2 separate regions of the Homo sapiens genome follow, and region 1 is linked to region 2. The links are contacts of gene promoters, found by promoter capture Hi-C in blood cells and fetal thymus (Javierre and others, 2016). All regions are on one chromosome and are shown on one strand. Each heading gives the region's core, a stretch centred on a gene start or on the middle of the fragment in contact. The rest is flanking DNA. Distances are from core to core; before and after follow the strand shown.

The links. Contacts are between HindIII fragments. The CHiCAGO score rates a contact against its expected background, and 5 or more counts as called.
Region 1: a contact is called between a fragment that was not itself captured here and the fragment with the promoter of SPINK1 in region 2, in 4 of 17 cell types (megakaryocytes, fetal thymus, monocytes and 1 more). The highest score is 5.9, in megakaryocytes.

Annotation. Positions count from the first base shown.
Region 1 is chr5:147,592,006-147,594,726 of GRCh38, forward strand. All of the region lies in intron 21 of JAKMIP2 (janus kinase and microtubule interacting protein 2), which reads right to left. JAKMIP2-AS1 (JAKMIP2 antisense RNA 1) reads left to right here. Exons shown (of 4, transcript NR_038902.1): 2 at 2,355-2,472. Among named protein-coding and RNA genes, the nearest start is that of JAKMIP2-AS1, 33 kb to the left of the region's middle. The HindIII fragment of the contact is 3,114 bases long and covers 1-2,721 here.
Region 2 is chr5:147,830,269-147,832,968 of GRCh38, forward strand. It overlaps SPINK1 (serine peptidase inhibitor Kazal type 1), which reads right to left and starts at 1,403. Exons shown (of 4, transcript NM_001379610.1): 1 at 1,255-1,403. The coding sequence starts at 1,309. LOC124901101 (a long non-coding RNA gene) reads left to right here and starts at 237. Exons shown (of 2, transcript XR_007058987.1): 1 at 237-602; 2 at 1,141-1,343. The HindIII fragment of the contact is 4,964 bases long and covers 1-2,323 here.

The DNA of each region.
Region 1 (2,721 bases), core at 132-2,631, 240 kb before region 2:
TTGAATAATCATGCCCCAACATATCCATTTAAGATGTTATTTTATTTTTGAAACTTATTTTAGATTCAGAAGGTAAATGTGCAGGTTGGTTACATGGATATATTTCATGATGCAGAAGTCTGGGCTTCTATTGAACCCATCACACAAAAGTGAAAATAGTACCCAATAGGTAGTTTTTCAAACACTGCCACTTCTCTACCTCCCCACTTTTGAAGTCTCCAGTATCTACTGTTTCTGCAAGATGTTATTTTAATAGCAGACCTGTCTATTCCCTTCAGTGACTTAATTCTATGTCACATTTCCTCCCCAACAAAATTGTAACCATTGGCAAATTGTCTCCACCTAAAGTCCTGATTGAAGAACTCCCTGGGAATTCTGCCACACAGGTTTCTTGGTTGGCCCAGAGATGTCCCTGAAAAGGTGCTACCCTGGGGATGTGCCAGTCAGGACTCCTAGCCCTGTTCCTCTGTAAGTCCATATGTCTGAGTTTTCACTTGTGTAGAAGTCTAGGTCGTAATGCTGTCTTCCAATGAAAGCCAGAAATAGCACAGAAGATGTGCTATGAGGTTGTGCTATCATGTCCTACTTAAGGGAATGGCCTTTAGGGTCTGAACAACATGGATAGAGAAAATGGGATTTCTATTTTCTTGCTGTATGCCCAAAGCTAATTTATTTAACTTCTCTAAGCCTCAATCTCCTCATCTATAAAATAAGGATACTGATTCTGTAGAAAGACTTTACTATTATTCCAGAAATGTTAAATCCAAAGTTAAATGTTAAAACCACAATCTAAAGTGGAGGAAAAGGAGGCACTTAGTACCCCAAGGATACTTCTAGTCTACCAACCAGGGGCAACTTAAAGATCCAAAGGCATATTTGCAGAGCCATTTTGCTCCCAAGACAAGGTTAGACTGGGATGGAAGAGTGACAGAGTCACAGAGGAGAACCTGTGGGAAGGAAGTACAGTGGTCGGGGAGAGATCACACTGAGGGAATGAGGAGGAGGTACGAAGAGGCGTAAAGATATTGATGGTGGATTCACAGAGGCATACTTGCCTCCTATTGCTCAGACATAGACTTTCTCATCTTCCCTTGCTTATATGTGAGCAGAGAACTGAAGAGTGATGACAGGGCAGAGACAGGCGCTACAGCGTAGTTGTCTCCTTGCTCCACACTCCATCAAAAAGCTACCTCCTTAGCAAAAAGCTGTGGGTTGCACCACCAACGAAGGGAGCCAGTGAGGCAGTGGAAGAGTCTGGGCCTTGGCCAGACTGGGAATAGGGCAGTGGGCATCCCCTGCACACCCTTCTGAAGAATTCACACATATGTTGCCCAGAATGGCCAGCCTTTGGTCACCTCTCATAGAAAAGATATCAAGTGTTGGTCAACAGTAGCCAAAGAAACATCTGCAATCACTGTCAAAGGAGCTGAGAGGGAGAATCCTTTTCCCTCTTCTTCCTCCCTGCTCTCCAGAACGGCTGAGCCTTGAAGAGGAAGAGAAGAGGAAGAGTTCTCGTAGAGTCAGACCCTGAACTACAGCTCCATGGGGGTACTTGGCTCATGCCTAAGGGAGGATAAGGGAAGAAATGAGAATAAAACAGAGTCTGAAATTGAACTTTTAAACTGGCTTAAGACTTTTGAGGATTGAAAGTGACTGAGAAGTTGGGGGACCAACCTAATATTTAATTAAAAGATGAGAGAGGGAAATAAGACAGAGCCTGAGTGAAGAAAGCTATGATTTGAGAAAATAGATTGAGTACATATTTACATTCCACTGGGATGAGAGCCCCAAATAACTAGTTACAAACACAACATTCTCCTATTCCATGGTAAATAAGAGAGTTGATCTGAATGTATATAAAAAATTCTTCAGGGATGTATTTTTGTTTGTGTGTTTTTAAATATAGAATAAATATACAAACACAAAAAGTCTTTTACTTGCAAACTTTCAATGTATAGCATATCAAAGATTAAATCCTATATATTGTGTCAAAGCATGTATGCATCATTTCCACCTATCACAACCGAGGTAAAACCCCTCATTTGAGTAAACACATGTTGGTTTTAAAAACCAATGGACTTACAGGCAGTCCAGGCAGTCTCCTGGAATGTTAAGTTTCTATGAATTGAGAAGTACTTGTAAAAGGAACTATTATTTCTATAGTGAAGCCAGATTTATTCAAATTAGCATTCTGAGTTATTGCAGTTACCCAGTGGGTAACAGGAGTTCTTTTTAACAGGTTGCATAACAGTGCTACAATTTAGTTTCCTCATCTGTGGAAAACAGCAATTGCCACTATCATTTTTGAGACTTTACTGCATGCTACAAATTCTTTTTTTTTCTTTTTGATACAGGGTCTTGCTTTGTTGCTCAGGATGGAGTACAGTGGTGCAATCTTGTCTCACTGCAGCATCGACCTCTGGGGCTTAAGCCATCCTTGCACTTCAGCCTCCCAAGTAGCTGGTACTACAGGTATGTGCCCCCATACCCAGCTAGTTTTTGTACTTTTGTAGAGATGGGATTTCACCATGTTTCCCAGGCTGGTCTTAAACTCCTGGGCTCAAGTGATCCACCTGCCTCAGCCTCTCAAAATGCTGTGATTACAGAGCCACTGTGCCCAGCTAATGCCACAAACTCCAAGTCTTGAGTACGGTGATGTGGCTTCTGACTTGTGGTTGTAGCATCTGTAAGGGCACCACCGTTTAACCAGTTACACCATCT
Region 2 (2,700 bases), core at 153-2,652:
ACAGGTAGTCAAAATAGCTAATCTCTATTCCCCCAGAAAATAGCAGAGGTTTTGCTGACAACATATAGGAAATGATAACTGTGGATAAGTTCATGGAAGGGAAAGGGAACTAATATGATAGCAATCAAATAAGGAAACATTCCTGAAAATTAATTTTAATATCATCAATCTTTGAGGTGATCTGAGCAAAGAGGTAGTTCTTTGTATCTAAATGTAATGAAAATTAGTGAGGCATCTATGAGCTTGGAGAATTTCCCCCGGGATAGTCAGAACTTGATGTTGTTGGGGGCCCACTGGCTTTTAGAATCTAGTTGAGTCTAAAAACTGAAGAGCAGGTGCTCATCACAGGCATCTATTTGTATTAATTAACATGCATGAGGAGGGGGAAAGGGAACACTGACTGTTGCCATAAATATTCAGCAAATAAAACAAACAATATTCTTCCTCTTCTTAGCAAAGTGCTGATTTGGCTCTCCACAGGATCCTTCACTACATGAGAGGTGAAGTTGAAAATGTTAACCATTTCCAGTGATAAAAAGGAAACTGATCTTGGCTCTGCGGGTTCAGAGTTGTCTGTCAACATTGTCAAGATGCAGTTGGAGGTATATGTGCACCATCTATTCAAGCAGAATATTTTCTTTCAAAACATTCAAAATGTGTAATGTAAATACACAAAATGCAATTTTTGTATTTCCAGATACTAATAAGAAATACCAGGAATTGAAAATAAAAAATTCCCTTTATATCACATATATTAGCTATTCAGGGATAAATCTGACAAACTATACATGATTCAAGTACACTGAAACCTATACAATAAAAAAATAAATTTTTAATCAGTCAAATTATGCCTTTTATACTGAATAACTGGAAGCCATTTATCTATTTTATGCAATCCCATGAGAATTTAAAATTTGTAATTTGGCCTTACACATTTACAGAATGAGAAGTATACTTAAAGTTAAAATATTTTTACCCTTTTTTCTCTACCATATCCCAACAAAGGGTCAGCCACATCAATAGAGGAAAACCATTTTATTTCTGGGAATTTCTTACTAGTAGAATTGTTTTCCTTATAGTAGGTTAAAAATTCCTCTTAAAAAATAATTCTTACCTGTTGATTTTATTTCATCTCATTAGGTCCAAAACATCTCTCGAAGACTAGACTACATCAAAAGTCTAGAAGATAATGTGCTTCACAAAGCAACAGGTCAAAACAGTTTTATTTAAATTTGAAAAATATGCAACACTTACCAGATAGACTCAACAGGGCCAAGGCACTGAGAAGAAAGATGCCTGTTACCTTCATGGCTGAAGTTCTGCGTCCAGAGGTCAGTTGAAAACTGCACCGCACTTACCACGTCTCTTCAGAAGCCTGGGACTGGAAGGGTCATATGGCAGATGGCAGCAAGGCCCCACCTACTGGGCTATATCACAGATCTCCCTGGTTATTGATTGACTCTGTGTCATAGCCTGGCCTCCAGGTTCTGGGAATGTCACCTGTGTAAGAAAGGTGAAAGGAGCCAGGTGGGCCTGAAACATGCAAGGCAAAGATTCTGTCAGGAAAATAGTTCTAGTGGTTAGTTTGATCCCTAACTCCCTCTGTGGTTGTGGGAAAGTCATTCCCTTCTCAAGCCTGTTTTCTCACCTGTAAGATGAACTCAAAGATCCCTTCTACTCTGTAGTTCTGGATAGATGAGCAGGTATGGATAGCTACTAGAAAGAATTTTATTCCAAGTAGGGTAAAACCTCTCCATTCTTTTTTCCTTTCCTCCACTCTTCCTTTCTTATTCTTCTTTCTCTTTTCTCTATTTTTCCCTCACTCATTCACAAAACCTAAAGTAGCTGATGGAGTGGCAGATGAGAGGGAAAGAGAAAGCAAGAGAGAGAGAGGACTCAGTTCCCTAAAGCGTGTATTCTGGAGCTAGAGGGTGCTTGTTGGAGCCACTTTTGCTGTGCTTCTGTGTATTCATCTGGAAATTAAAATAATAATAACACCTAATTCAAAGGGTTACTCTTTCATCTGAGAATATGTGCTGGGTAAAAGAGAATATGTGCTGGATATCTACCATGTGTTATTAGAAGAGAATTCTCCATCCTCTCTCATGTTTTGGTGTGTCTTATGAGTAGAGGTACTGATAACCTTTGTTTCAGACTATCTTTTTAAGGGTGTTTATATAACAAACGACCTTAGAAAATACGTAATGTCTCCCTCTGCACCAAAAGGCAGGTTTGTTTACTGTTTAGTGTAATAAAGTTAATATCTCCTTCTAGGGCAAAGACCATGTTAATTGCCCTTTACAAAAGATTTCGGGTTTTTAAAAGCTTGGCCTTTCTTTCCTTTAACACACTGTACTTTCCCTGCAACTATCACTTGATGCCCCTTAAATTGGCCTGTGGAAATTGGGGCTTGGGAAACCAGAACAAATTCCAATACTCTGGCTGTTGCTATGGAATAATTAAGTCCCTTTTCTCTGAGCCAGGAGTCTGTGCCTTCTGCCAGAAACCATTATAATGTGGCAGGCTAACTTCTTAGCTTCCAAGTAGGATAAAATCTCAAACCCTTCCCAAGTCATGACAAGAACTGTATTTATCTCTTAAGACAGATCAGTAAATAAAAATAACAATCTCTGTCTTCATGGAGCTTCCATTGCCTTTTTGTTGAGGGAGGCAAGTGACAAAAAATAATAAGTGATTATA